2 separate regions of the Homo sapiens genome follow, and region 2 is linked to region 1. The links are contacts of gene promoters, found by promoter capture Hi-C in human tissues and cell types (Jung and others, 2019). All regions are on one chromosome and are shown on one strand. The core of a region is centred on a gene start or on the middle of the fragment in contact, and the rest is flanking DNA. Distances in the headings are between cores, read along the strand shown.

Region 1 (7,499 bases), core at 3,872-6,371:
GTAGCCATTGTGATAAACAGTACAGTGTTTTCTCAAAAAATTAATAGAATTACCACAAGATCCAGCAATGCCACTTCTAGGTATATACCAGAAATAACTGAAAGCAGCATGATATGGTTAGGCTTTGTGTCCCCACCCAAATCTCATCTTGAATTGTAATCCCCAGGTGTTGAGGGAGATACCTGGTGGCAAGTGATTGAACTATGGGGGAGGTTTCCCCCATGCTGTTCTTGTGATAGTGAGTATTCTCAGGAGATCTGATGGTCTTATAAATGATAGCTTTTCCTGTGCTCTTCTCTCTCCTGCCGCCATATGAATAAGGTCCTTGCTTCCCCCTCACCTTCCACCATGATTGTTCCTGAGGCCTCCTAGCCATGTGGAACTGTGAGCCAAATAAACCTCTTTCCTCTGTAAATTACCCAGTCTTGGGTATTTCTTTATAGCAGTCTAAAGACAGACTAATACACAGGGACTCAAACAAATATTTTTACGCCAATGTTCATGATAGCATTACTAATAATAGCCAAAAATGGAAATGACCCAAATGTTCACTGACAGATGAATGGATAAACAAAATATGATGTATACATATAATGGAATATTATTCAGCCTTCAAACAAAATGAAATTCCAATATATGTAACAACATGGATGAACCTTCAGGACATTTGCTAAGTGAAATAAGCTAGACACAAAATGACAAATATTTTATGATTCCTCTTAAATGAGGTACCTACAATTCATAATGAAAGTAAGTAGAATAGTGGTTACAGAGGTGCTAGGAGAGGCAGGAGTGGAGAGTTGTTGAGTGAGTGTGAAGTTTCAGTTTGGGGTGATGAAAGGCTCTGGGGACAGAAAGTGTTAACAGTTGCACAACAATGTGAATAGGCTTTTTACCACTGAATTGTACACTCAAAAGTGTTTAAAATTGTAAGCTTTATGTTTTGTGTATTTTACAAGAAAAAAATTTTTAATCAATGAATGTAATTCACAATATTGACAGACTAAATAAAAATAGCCATATGATCATATCAATAGATGCAGGACCATATCAATAGATGCAGGACAGGTATCTGACACAATTCAACATATATTTGTTGTAAAATCTCTTAGCTAATTAAGAATAGAAGAAACTTCTAATGTAGGGTATTTACAAAAACTTTTAGCTAACATCACACTTAATGATCTGAATAAGGCAACTGCTATGGTTTTAATGTTTGTCCCCCTCCATAATTCAAATGAAAAGTTAATTGCCATTGTAACAGTTTTAAGAGAGATTGCTATGCATTTTCAACTTTAAGAGATGATTAGGCCACGAGGGCGTCACCTTCATGGGTAGGATTGGTGCTATTATAAAAGGGCAAGTTTGGCCCTCTCTTGCCCCTTTCTCTCTTCTGCCATGTGAGGAAGAGCATTCTGTTCCTCACCTCACCCCATCCCCCAAGGATGCAGCATTCAAGATGCCGTCTTGGAAAACAGATTAAGATAACAATGCTCTCTCAGTACTCCTATTCAACATCATCCTACAAGTCTTGGCCAGTGAAATAAAGGAACAAAAAGAAAGAAAAGTCATACAGTCTGAAAAGGAAGAAACAAATGGTCACTATTTGCAGACAAAATGACTATATATGTAGAACATTTCAAACAATATACCAAAAAAACTTATTTAATTAATAAGCAAGTTTAGCACGTTTTCAGGATAAATGTCAATATACAAAAGTCATCTTATCCCTGTATACCAACAGTGAACAACTGGAATGTGACATTTTAAAAAAATCTATTTAAAACAGAAGAAAGGAAGAAAGAAGGAAAAAAGAAAGGTACACCTCTGTACAAATGTATCAAAATGTGTGCAGGATCTATATATATATATATATATATATATATATATATATATACTGAAAACTACAAAACACAGCTGAAAGGAAAGAAAGATTCACGTAAAATATCCCATTTTCTTTTTTTTTCTTTTTTTTTTTTTTTGAGGTGGAGTCTTGCTCTGTTGCCCTGGCTAGGGTACAGTGGCCCGATCTTGGCTCACTGCAACCTCCACCTCCTGGGTTCAAGCAATTCTCCTGCCTCAGCCTCCTGAGTAGCTGAGATTACAGGCACGTGCCACAATGCCCGGCTATTTTTTGTATTTTTAGTAGAGATGGGGTTTCACCATGTTGGCCAGGCTGGTCTTAAACTCTTGACCTCAAGTGATCTGCCTGCCTCAGCCTCGCAAAGTGCTGGGATTACAGGTGTGAACGACTCCACCCAAAGTACACCAATTTCACTCATTGAGAGACTCAATATTGTTAAGATGCCAGCTCTCCCAAATCTCAGCAATCTTTTTGTAGATGTCAACAGGCTGATTCTAAAATTTCCATGGAAAGGCAAAGAAACTAGAATAGCCAAAATAATTCTTAAAAAGAAAAAATTGGAGAATTTACATTATGAGATTTCAAGGCTTTCTATAAAATTAGAGTAATCCAAACAATATATCTGCAAAAGAATAGACAGACCAGGCAACACAAAGAAGAAAGGATTTTTTAAAGTGAATTGAAATTTTATTTTTATACAAAAACCTGCGTGTGAATCTTACATTACAGGGTTATTCATAATTGTCAAAAACTGGAAACCACCAGCTGCCCTTCAACAGGTGAATGAAGAAACACTACTAAATTAGTGAGTGATACTTTAAGAGAAACATGATGTTTTATAGCCTCAAAATATCTCACTGCAGGCCAGTCATGGTGGCTCGCGTCTGTAGTCCCAGCACTTTGAGAGGCAAAGGTGGGTGGATCGCCTGAGCCCAAGAGTTTGAGACCAACATGGACAAAAACAAAGAAAGAGAAAGAAAAAGGGAAAGGAAGGGAGGGAGGAAGGGAGGGAGGGAGGGAGGAAGGGAGGGAGGGAGGTCCAAAACTTAGCTACTTGGGAAGCTGAGGTGGGAGGATCACTTGAGCCTAGGAAGTCCAGGCTGCAATAAGCCGTGATCGCACCACTTCACTCCAGCCTCGGTGACATAGTGAGACCCGGTCTCAAAAACAAACAAACAAACCAAACCTCACTGCAAATATTTATCAGCTGCGGTGGTGCTGCATCTACACACACAGCGCCGAACTTGGAAGTTGGCGGAGAGCAGCTCTTTGGGCACCAGGCAAGGTCTCAGCCTTCAGACAGATGTGAAGGGCGAGACTTTCCTTGGAAAGGAATTAAAGGGTTTATCTTTTTAAAACACCTGTTTCTCTTAAAAACTTAAGAAATGTATAATTTAAAAATTTAAAACTTTGATATTATTAATTGCTTATTGTTGAATGAATCCTTGTGAAAATTATTGATTGTAATGTTAGTGCCATGGATATGTCCTTTGTCCCAGCACCTATCTCATTGTCCTAACAAGGTTACTGAAGGTTCTCTTTCCACTGCTTTAAAAGCCAGCTGATACATACTACATTCTTTCTTTTTCATATAGTTGAACTTTTACTGCACCAGGATAAATTTTTAAATATTTAGTGATAGTATACATAGTAAATATAGAGATATTGCTATGCATTTTCAATTCTTTTCTGATCATTACCATAAGTTTTTATTAGAATGAAAATTGGAATAGTTCCTTTAGGAAAACAGGCAAAATATATAAATGTCAAAAAAAGAAAATATATACTTAGAAAACATAGATGATTAGAATTTTTAAAAACAAATGTTAGTCTTTTCCTCCAGTATCTATTAAAGTGTTTTTCAGTGTCAACAGTAAAATTTTATACCTTGATTCATATATACTGCACTAGTTTACTGTTGCCATTAATCTTTTTTCTTGCTAATCAAAACTTATCATTGCCATATAAAATAACCTGTTAGAAAGTATCAACCGTGTGTGTGTGAGTGTATGTGTGTTACTAAAAAGAGTGTCATAAAATACTGTGCTGAGAGGTTCCTAATTTGGTTCCTGATTTCAGAAGCATACCACATAAGATTTAAGCAAGCTCATCTCTAGGAGATGCATAATTTGTGGATAACGGTTTTCTTAGTTGGGATTGTGTGTACTTCAGGTATTATGTAATGCTGAACAGCTTACTTGCTTTTTCTTTTTTTCCCCCCAGAGATAAACTGAGGATCACAAATATTATTCTTTTATGTTAATAATGGTTTCCATTTTCTAGTATTTGTTACATTTTACGGCTTTATTCACAAAGCTGTTTATGTATTTTTGTGGCAGCTCTAAGTTAAAAGGCACACTTGTAACATTACAGTCCCAATTTTCCCTTTATCAACTTTATATTATAAAATTTTCCAACACATAGTCAATAAGCATGTCCATATTCTAGAAGTAGATATTCTTAACATTTTGCCATACTTCCCATTTCTAATTATTTTTTAAAAAGAACTTACAAACGGGCCGGGAGTGGTAGCTCACGCCTGTATACCCAGCACTTTGGGAGGCCAAGGCAGGCGGATCACTTGAGGTGAGGAGTTCGAGACCAGCCTGGCCAACATGGTGAAACCCCGTCTCTACTAAAAATACAAAAATTAGCTGGGCGTAGTGGCGGGCGCCTGTAGTCCCAGCTACTTGGGAGGCTGAGGCAGGAGAATCGCTTGAACCCGGGAGGCGGAGGTTGCAGTTAGCCGAGATCGCGCCACTGCACTCCAGCCTGGGCGACAGAGTAAGACTCCGTCTCAAAAAAAAAAAAAAAAACCAAAAAACCCAAAAACTTACAAACATAATACAATCCTAAATACTTACATAGACATCTCTTTATGAATAAGCAAGATTACCTACATAATCCCAATGCTGCCACAATTAATTAATAATTCTAATTTCCAGTCCGTATACAAATTTTCCCAATTGTTTTCAAACGTCTTCCGCGGCTCTTGCTTTCTGTAACCACACGCTGCATTTGCTGTTATGTCATCAAGTCTAACCCACAACCTCTGGGGCTCTGACAGAACCCGGGCTCCAGTTATCAGGACGGTCCATGTTATTACGCCATAAATCTTGGGGGAAAAACAAACAAAAAAACACTGACAGCTGGCGCCGTACTGCATGTGAAACGTAGTCTTGCATGTTATGGGTTACCGCGCAGCATGCTGGGAACGGATATGCGCGTTTTCGTCTGCGCATGTGCAGTCAACCCCACTTTCCGGCTTCTCCCTGTTAGTGTTTGCTGGTGCAGAGGGTTCGCAGCTCAGGTGAGAGCGCCGGGCCTCCACGCGGATTGCGGACCTGCAGGGAGGGATGTGCTAGTGTCCAGGGGGCGGGAACGCGACGTCCCGGGAACTCCCCCAAAGCAGGCCGTCGCTCCCTGTGCCTCGGCCGGCCCGGGACCTCAGCCTGAGAAGGGCCGGTGGGGGCGGGCTCCGGGGGCGTTAGGTGGGGCTGAGTCCTAGTTGGAAGATGCTCGGTGCGGGCCGAGGTATGGGCGCCAGAATGCAGCCAGGCGTCGGAAAACGCGGTGCTGGCTTCAGGAGGGGAATGCGCGTTTATTGTATTGACCATGAACCTGCCACAAAGCGCGTACAGCCCGTGGGTCTGCGGTGAGAGGCCGAGCCTAGGAGCTAGAAGGACCTCGTGAATTTTGGCTCTGTCACTTGAGCGTTTGAAAATGAGGATATTAGTAAAAACTGCTTTGTGTCGTTCAGAGGTAAGCCATCCCCTGTAAAGCATTTAGCTAAGCGCTAGTTACTAAGCAGCATGTAAATGTTGATTCCCGTTATATTTGGAAGACACTTTGTTCTTTTCATGTAGTATTTCGTTTAATTCTCACAACCACCCTATTTATATCATTAAAAATGAAGAAGGAGGAGTGAAAAGATAGAGCCAAGCTCACAAAGGATGAGAGAGCTAGGATGTCAATACATAAACACTTTACTCCCCGAATCAGGCTGTTTGTAATGGCCTACCTACCTAACCCAGCATTGCAGCCTTCACAGCACTGAGTGATTGTCCCCAAAACCCCAGGACAATGATTGTGAAGTCAGTGTGGACAGAATCTTACTATGTGGCAAGTGTATTTGTTGTGGGGTTTCTGGGATGTCTCCAGAGCCTCTGGGTTAGACTGAGGCCCCTGCCACCTCCTGTGCTGTCCCTCCTGTCTCTGTCTTTAGAAGTCAGTCTGATATTCTAGGGCAGTGAAGATGAGTCACATACGTAATTTTAAATGTTAAACTAGTAGCTACATGAAAATCTAAAACATGAAATTAATTTTAAGAACATACTGTGGTTTTCTCAGTGTATCCAAAATGTTATTTCAACATGTGGTCCTAGCCACATTTCCAGTGCTCAGTAGTTGATGTGATTGGAGGCTGTAGTCATGGATAGCAGGGTTCTAATTAATGCCAAGAGAATCAGGTTTAAGGCCTTAGGTCACTTCTTCACCAGGAGGATTTTGCTCCCTAGGGAACTTTGGAAATGTTGGAGACTTTTTTGGTGGGGGGAGAGGGGACTGAGTTTCTCTCTGTCGCCCAGGCTGGAGGGCAGTGGTGTGATCTTGGCTCACTGCAACCTCCACCTCCCAGGTTCAACTGATTCTCCTGCCCCAGCCTCCCAGCTTGTAATCTCAGCTGGAATTACAAGCATGCATGGCCATGCCCAGCTAATTTTTTGTATTTTTAGTAGAGGTGGGGTTTCACCATATTGGCCAGGCTTATCTTGAACTCCTGACCTCAGGTGATCCACCTGCCTTGGCCTCCCACAGTCCTGGGATTACAGGCGTGAGCCACCACGCCCGGCCTGGAGACGTTTCTGATTGTCACAACAGGGAGAAGGGGTGTCCTAGTGTCTAGTGCATGTTTAGAAATGCTCTTAAACATCCTGCAATGCACAGGACCACTCCTTATGTCAGAGGATTATCCAGCCCAAAATGGAAGTTGTGCTGACGTGAAGAACACTGTTTTCCATGAAAGTTTCAACTAAAATAAATTTGTTACCCAGGCATCAGCCCCAGCTTCTCTGGAGCAAAGCAGCTCTTTATGTTGCAGGAAGGAGGGAGCCCCAGGAACAGGAGTCCCACCGAAGAACTGCTCTCTGACAGAACAGAGACCTCCTCACCAGGGCTTCCAAACAGATGCAGAAGAACCCAGAAAGGAGCAGGTCTTGATTTGCCCAACCAGCGGCACTTCTTCATCCCCTTGCCCAGAGAGCACCAGACTTGGTGATGTCGCCACATCCAGAAGCCATCACAGATTGTGTGACACTGAACACTGTGGGCCAACTTGCAGAAGGTGGTAAGCTGGGGTTGAGAGGCGTGGGTGACTGTCAGACTGCACAGGAAAAGCCACATTACTGGAGGGCTTTTCTCCATGGTCTCCAAGGAAGGCATAACCAGCCAGGGCTGAGGAAATTGTCTCTAATCCTCCTCATAGAGCCCCCATTTTCTTCATTCTTGCCTCACTCTTTCCAGATTCTGAGTCACTCTCACACAACATCCATCACATGTAGCATCTAGAAATTTACTAAGGTTGCCTCTATCCTGAACCTGTAGAATCACAAAAATGATAATACAGGAAAGGATTTCT
Region 2 (7,768 bases), core at 3,277-5,776, 70 kb after region 1:
AAACGTGCCAGCTCCCCAAGACCTAACTAGTTAGTACCAAGGAACTTTCTCCAAGAACAGTAAGTAACATTTCCCTTTTTCATAAAACCTCTAACCTTCTCTTTGTTCTTGAGACATACTGAACACCACCCGGTCTACATGGATGCCCCAAATTGCAATTCTTTCCTCCCAAATAAGATGTTTTAATTTCAGATTCATTTCCATATTTTATTTGACTTCAACACAGAAGTTTCGAAAAGCACAGCAATGTCTGTCACACATTAATACACATGATTGCTAAAACATTAAACAACTTTCCTGGCGCAACACAGGTCCAGAGAGAAAAGAAAGGGAGAAGGTGGCATGTGTCTCAGCTGGCAATGGGAGCAGTGGGAAAGGGAACTTCCAATAGCCTGGTGAGAACCACAGGGCTGCACTGGAGTGGAGTAAGGCCATATACCACAGCGCTTAAGTGAGACAAATAACTTTCAAGATTTAAATGTTCCTAGGGGCTGGGCACAGTGGCTCAGGACTGTAATCCCAGCACTTTGGGAGGCAGAGGCGGGCGGATCACGAGGTCAGGAGATTTAGACCATCCTGGCTAACACGGTGAAACCCCGTCTCTACTAAAAATACAAAAAATTAGCCGGGCGTGTAGTCCCAGCTACTCGGGAGGCTGAGGCAGGAGAATGGCATGAACCCAGAAGGTGGAGCTTGCAGTGAGCAGAGATAGCGCCACTGCACTCCAGCCTGGATGACAGAGCAAGACTCCACCTCAAAAAATAATAATAATAAATAAAAATGTTCCTAGGAAAGTACTATGTTCTTCGAAAAAACATTCATTTTGATTGTGGTAATCATTGCACAGTGCATACATATATCAAATAATCATGTTGTACACTTTGAATAAGAATATATTCAATCTTTGTCAATTAAATATTTTAAAATTAAAAAGCAAATATGTTTTATAAATATAAACATATAAATATCAAACCCTCAGCACCTTTCCTAGGAAACACACATCCCACTCCCCACAACCCAGGATCACAGGACCCCAGAACCCATGTACCAGCTTGACTCTAGAGCCTAGCCTGGTGGTACTAAGAGGGACAGGCAGAGCTGCCCCCAGGCCTGCAACACACTCCACCTCTTCTGAGTCAGGTGCTGCAGTGTAGACGCACAGTGGGCCTTGAGGGAGAGCAGCCCGTGGAGCCTGGGGGCAGCTGGTAGAGAAGAGCTCGCTCCACTGAGGATCCCTTGGGGCATCCTATTGAACATCTATTATGTGTTGTAACTACCCAATGGGTTCATCTTGCCCACTGCCCAGATACAGCTGATTTATCAAGACACGGAAATTGCAATAGAGAGTTTAATACACATAGAGCCAGCTAAATGGGAGATCAGAGTTTTATTTTTACTCAAATCAGCCTCCCCGAAGGCTCAGAGATTAGAGGCTTTCAATGTTACTTTGGTGGGCAGGGGACTAGGGAACGGGTATTGCTGATTGGTTGGGGATCATAGAGGTGTGGAAAACAATCTTCATGTGCTGGGTCCACCTCTGGGTGGGGGCCACAGGACTGGTGGTATCATGAGTCCAGGTGGAGTTCGCTGGTCATCAGAAATGTGAAAGTCTGAAAAGGCATCTCAAAGGCCAACCTAAGGTTCTACAATAGTGATGTTATCTGCAAGTGTAACTGGGGAAGTTACAAATCTTATGACCTCTGGAACAATGGCTTGTTATTGTTTATGCCTAAATTTTAGCAGAATTCAGGCCCTTCTCATAATCCTAGCCTTGTAGGCTTTCATTAGTTTTATAAAGTCAGTTTAGTTTTAGGAAGGGCTACTATCATCCTTGCTTTAAGGTTAAACTATAAACTAAATTTCTCCCACAGTCAGCATGTCCTAGGCCCAGGAAGGACCAAGGGCAGCTTGGAGGTTAGAAGCAAGATGGAGTCAACTATATCAGATTTCTCTTACTGTGATAATTTTGCAAAAGTGGTTTCAGTGTCAGATATAGTTCTGGATACTTGAAAATTGCGTTCTTCAAATCTTCTCAACAACCATCCAAAGTGAATATCATCCTCAGGTGAAGTATGATAAACCCAAAGCTCTTCAGTGTTCATGCGAGCATAACTTATGCCATAATTTTAATTTCAACTCACACCTTCCCACCTCCCAAGTCCATTTTAAGCCCCTGCAATGGCAAGCTATCTACCGAAGATGCAAACTTCAGGTAAAGCTTGGCAGATTGTGAGTAGCTTAGTGTGTTGCCTGTGTGACGCACCAGGGTCAATGTGTAAGAAAGAGCTGGAAATGTAAGTTGAGCCAACCAAGGGTAATGACAGTGCATGTGCATGAGGAGGTATAAGACAAATGCATGAACTGGAATTGGTGATAAAACTTGTGTTTAGGGAAGATTATTTTCACAGCAAAGTGAAAAAAAGATTTAGAGAGAGGAAAAACTAGAGATTAGTGAGGAGGTAACTACAACAATACTGAGGTCTTGGAGTGTAAATTAGTAACAAGAAAAAGGGGTGAGATCCATATGAGGATAGACCTGCAAACTCCTTGAATATGGATATTCATGAAAAAAAAAATGAACAGTGCTACTGTTAACAAATCATGAAAACCAAGAAAATCAGTTTTGGGGACAGTTGTTTTAACTTTTAAGTGTTATAGAACCAAAGTGGGGTCCACTCTCCTGCCACAGTAAAACCACATATCCACACTGAAGTTTGCAGCAATAGAAAGGTGTTTATTGCAGAGCACCAAGCAAGAAGGACCAGGCAGCTAAATGCTCAAATCCTGACCTCCCCAGTGGCTTCCAGACAAAGGATCTCAAAGGCAGGGGTGGATTTCAGGAAAGCAGAAGCTGTAGGCAAAATTGTAAATCAATACATGGAGGTTGCTTTAGGCCTAAAAGGATGGAATATCTTGAAGTGGGGACTTACATGTCATAGGTAGATTCAACGATTTTCTGATTTGCAGATGGTTGAGGAAGAGAAGCTTTGTTTAAAAATTTGGAGTTGGTAGAAAAATGTTAACTGGCTAGGGAGTGTGCCTTTCTCCAAGCCCTTCCGGATGAAATGTTTACACCAAGAAACATTATATATAAGGTCTCAAGATAGTAGAAGGGACTATGAGAGATGAAATGAGAAGATATGGGGTTTTTCTGGATGGGAAGTGGGGGATTACAATAAACTGCTACCCCAAGACAGAGAGCACAGCAAATGAGAGATGATGCAAAGTGGAGTTAATGTGAGAGAAGTCAGGGAGAGCCTCTCCCTCCATCCCTCCATAAGCATCCATGTGGAGCCAGGGGAGTAGCTTGGGGGTCTTTCTTTTCCATGTTTGGGCACTCCACTTTGGGAAATAAGAACAGCAGTTGAAAAGAATAAGGACTTATAACTTTTTTTCCATCCAGAAAATTGGATTAGAAACCAGAAGGTTTGAGTCTTGTCTGGACCCCAGCACTAACTTGCTGTGTGACTTCAGTGAAGTCACTGCACCTCCTTGGGCTGATATTCTTCTTCAGTGAAGCAGGAATAGAATTATTACAGGTGGGATTCTGGATGATAGGAGCCAGTTTGAGGGGCACACACAGCCAGGTGCCAGTATGCACCCCATGCAGAAATGCTCAGGTAAGAGGCCCTTGTGCTGACCTCCACCTCTCACAGACCCTCCCATCCCTCTCTACTTCCCTCGACTTGGGAAACTGAACTCTCGCTTCTTCCTGGAGGTGCTGGAAAGAGAAGAGGGAGGGAGTTACATACTTCCCATTCCTCACCCCCACTGAGATCTCAGGGAGAAATGTATGAGCACCTTTCAATACACTTTCCCAGAGACTGAGAGCACAGTTGTCTGTCCCAGGACACTGCCACTGTGTGTTTTTGTAGGTTTCTGTAAAACTATAAAGGACTATATTCTGTACCAAAGAATGAGACACCTCCACTGCTGTCACTGGAACTTCTTTAATGCTTTGTAGGGAATAAGAAACAACCCTTTTGTCTCACTTTCCTCTTAAGATAGAGTTTGCCAGAGTGCAAATCCCTGTGCCATTGGATACAGCAAGACAGGAAAACAAACAGAAAAACCAAGTCTGGAGGTTTTCTCAAATTCTCTGTTATCTTTGGCATTTTCATCCCCTGAAATCATGAACCAAGCTGTTTATTCTGAAGCTGACTTCAGAACTGAGTGGCAGAAAGGGAGCTGTGTAATGCACTTATCTGGAGAACTCTGGTAGACAGACACCTGTGGCCACCATCTTCGAATAGAGGTCAGTGTCTCACCACAATTGAAAGGAAGTTCTAGGCTTTCAAGTGCTTAACTGAGAGCCCACTCATACCTCTACGCACTCTGTCAGCAAGGTCCCCCAAACAGCACCCCAGGCAACTTCCAGGATACAAGGGATAAATATACATCGTGTGTGTCGGCCCCCCGCCCGGCCAGCCGCCCCGTCCGGGAGGGAGGTGGGGGGGGTCAGCCCCCCTGCCCGGCCAGCCGCCCCGTCCGGGAGGTGAGGGGCGCCTCTGCCCGGCTGCCCCTACTGGGAAGTGAGGAGCCCCTCTGCCCGGCCAGCCGCCCCGTCCGGGAGGGAGGTGGGGGTGTCAGCCCCCCGCCCGGCCAGCCGCCCCGTCCGGGAGGGAGGTGGGGGGGGGTCAGCCCCCCCGCCCGGCCAGCCGCCCCATCCGGGAGGTGAGGGGCGCCTCTGCCCGGCCGCCCCTACTGGGAAGTGAGGAGCCCCTCTGCCCGGCCAGCCGCCCCGTCCGGGAGGGAGGTGGGGGGGGTCAGCCCCCCCGCCAGGCCAGCCGCCCCGTCCGGGAGGTGAGGGGCGCCTCTGCCCGGCCGCCCCTACTGGGAAGTGAGGAGCCCCTCTGCCCGGCCACCACCCCGTCTGGGAGGTGTGCCCAACAGCTCATTGAGAACGGGCCAGGATGACAATGGCGGCTTTGTGGAATAGAAAGGCAGGAAAGGTGGGGAAAAGATTGAGAAATCGGATGGTTGCCGTGTCTGTGTAGAAAGAAGTAGACGTGGGAGACTTTTCATTTTGTTCTGCACTAAGAAAAATTCCTCTGCCTTGGGATCCTGTTGATCTGTGACCTTACCCCCAACCCTGTGCTCTCTGAAACATGTGCTGTGTCCACTCAGGGTTAAATGGATTAAGGGCGGTGCAAGATGTGCTTTGTTAAACAGATGCTTGAAGGCAGCATGCTCGTTAAGAGTCATCACCAATCCCTAATCTCAAGTAATCAGGGACACAAACACTGCGGAAGGCCGCAGGGTCCTCTGCCTAGGAAAACCAGAGACCTTTGTTCACTTGTTTATCTGCTGACCTTCCCTCCACTATTGTCCCATGACCCTGCCAAATCCCCCTCTGTGAGAAACACCCAAGAATTATCAATAAAAAAATAAATTAAAAAAAAAACAAAAAAAAAAAAAAAAAAACCACAATGAATACCTCACACCAGTTAAAATGGCTTTTATCAAAAAGGGAATAGGGTTCCTGGCAAGGATGTGGACAAAAGGGAACCCTCCTCCGTTGTTGATGGGAATGTAAATTAGCGCAGCCACCATGGAAAACTGTGGAGATTCCTGAAAAAATTAAAAATAGAACTATCATATGATCCAGCAATCCCACTGCTGGGTATATATCCAAAAGAAAAGAAATCAATATATTGAAGAGATGTCTGCACTCCCATGTTTATTTCAGCACTACTTACAATAGCCAAAAGATGGAATCAACCCAAGTGCCCGTCAATGGATAAGTGGATAAAGAAAATGTGATATATATACACAATGGAATATTCCACCATTAAAAAAAATGAAATCCTATCATTTGCAGCAACACGGACGGAACTGAAGGTCACTGTTAAGTGAAATAAACCAAGCACAGAAACACAGATATCACATGTTCTCACTCAGATGTAGGAGTTAGGAATGTGGATCTCATAAAGAATGGTGGTTACCAGAGGCAGGGATGGGTAGGGGGAGGGAGGGATGAAGAGAGGTCAATAAATGGCTACAAAAAAATACAGGTAGATAGAAAAAATAGACCTAGTGTTTGATAAGTCAGTAGAGTGACTATAGTAAAACATCTATTGTATATTTCAAAATAGTAGAGAATAATTCAAATGTTTCCAGCATAAAGAAAAGATAAATGTTTAAGGTGATGGATGTTCCATTTACCCTGATTTGGTTATTATACTTATATTAATAATATCAAAATATCACATGTACCCCAGAAATATGCACATCTATTATGTATCAATAAAAAATAAAATTGCCACAGTCAAAAAAAAAAAAAAAATATATATATATATATACATCATGTGCCCTATGTAAGAGCTCACTGTCAAGATGCACAGGGATGTGAGGGGGCACCAGAAGTCCTCTCATCTGCCTTACTATGATCATGGGTCCTGGGCCTTGTGGAGAACAGATCGTTATTGTTTGAGATCAAGCTTGATCCCCAGGGATGAAGCTTCTACACATGCACTTAGCATTTCTACTTCCCAAGAAACAATAGGATATTGGGAAGAGTTTTGCACCAAACCATAACAGATGTGGTTGGACCATTTCAGAAGCAACTGATCTGCACAGTACCTAGGCCTTAATAGGATAAGGATTGCTTGAACACAATTTCATTATCTCACTGATTCCCAGTCAAGGAACGACCTGTGGGAGATATCATAAAATACCACATGAGAATACATTTGAACCTCTGATACCTAGGGACCAAAAATACAAGTTTATAGATTTTTAAATCAATTTCCATTGCAGTCGGAACACTTATTCTCTAACATTTCTTTCTTTCTTTTTTTTTTTTTCTGAGACAAAGCCTTGCTCTTGTCCCCCAGGCTGGAGTGCAATGGTGCGATCTCTGCTCACTGCAACCTCCGCTTCCCGGGTTCAAGTGATTCTCCTGCCTCAGCCTCCCGAGTAGTTGGGATTACAGGCGCCTACCACCACGCCCAGCTAATTTTTGTATTTTTAGTAGAGACGGGGTTTCACCATGTCAGCCGGGCTGGTCTAGTCTCCAACTCCTGACCTCAGGTGATCCGCCCACGTCGGCCTCCCGAAGTGCTGGGATTAAAGGCGTGAGCCACCGCGCCCAGCCTATTCTCTAACATTTCAATCTTCAGAATTTGTTGGAACTTCTTTAAGGCCTAAAACATAGGTTATCCTTGTAAAGGTTCCACGTACATTTTAAAACAATGTGTATTCTGCAATCCTTGGATGTAGTGTTCTACATATATTGTCAAACTGGTTGACAACATTTTTAAAGTCTTCTACCATCCTACTGGATTTATTTTTTGTCTAGTTTGTTCTATCAATTACTGTGAGAGATATCAAATCTCCAAGCAAGGTTGTGGATTTGTCTCTCTTTTTAGTTATCTCAGTTTTTGCATTGTGTATTTTGACACTTTCTCTCAATTTTTCATCTTTAGAGACAGGCTCTTCATCTGTCACCCAGGCTGGAGTGCAGTGGCATGATCACAGTTCAGTGAAGCCTCAAAATCCTAGGCTCAAGCCATCCTCCACCCCAGACTCCCTAGTAGCTGCTGTGCCTAGCTTGTATTTTGAAGCTCTTTTATTAGGTACACACATATTTACCATTGTTACATCTTCCTGATAAATTGACCCTTCTTAACATAATGAATTGTCTTTTTGAAACTCTATGACAATACCCATTGTACTGCGTCCATGTTAGTAACACATATTATATTTCTTATTTTTTTTGCAGAGTATACTTCTTATCACCCTTTTACTGTCAATCCACCTGTATCTT

The links. Contacts are between HindIII fragments. The study calls those that stand out against the background at their distance.
Region 2: a fragment that was not itself captured here is called in contact with the fragment with the promoter of ZNF510 in region 1 in 2 of the 25 tissues and cell types used here (mesendoderm cells and spleen).

Annotation. Positions count from the first base shown.
Region 1 is chr9:96,775,709-96,783,207 of GRCh38, reverse strand. It overlaps ZNF510 (zinc finger protein 510), which reads left to right and starts at 5,121. Exons shown (of 6, transcript NM_014930.3): 1 at 5,121-5,174; 2 at 6,963-7,208. The coding sequence starts at 7,139. RefSeq lists a silencer at 5,261-5,360. The HindIII fragment of the contact is 14,118 bases long and covers 1-7,499 here.
Region 2 is chr9:96,704,470-96,712,237 of GRCh38, reverse strand. No RefSeq gene overlaps it. Among named protein-coding and RNA genes, the nearest start is that of PRXL2C, 53 kb to the right of the region's middle. The HindIII fragment of the contact is 3,848 bases long and covers 2,603-6,450 here.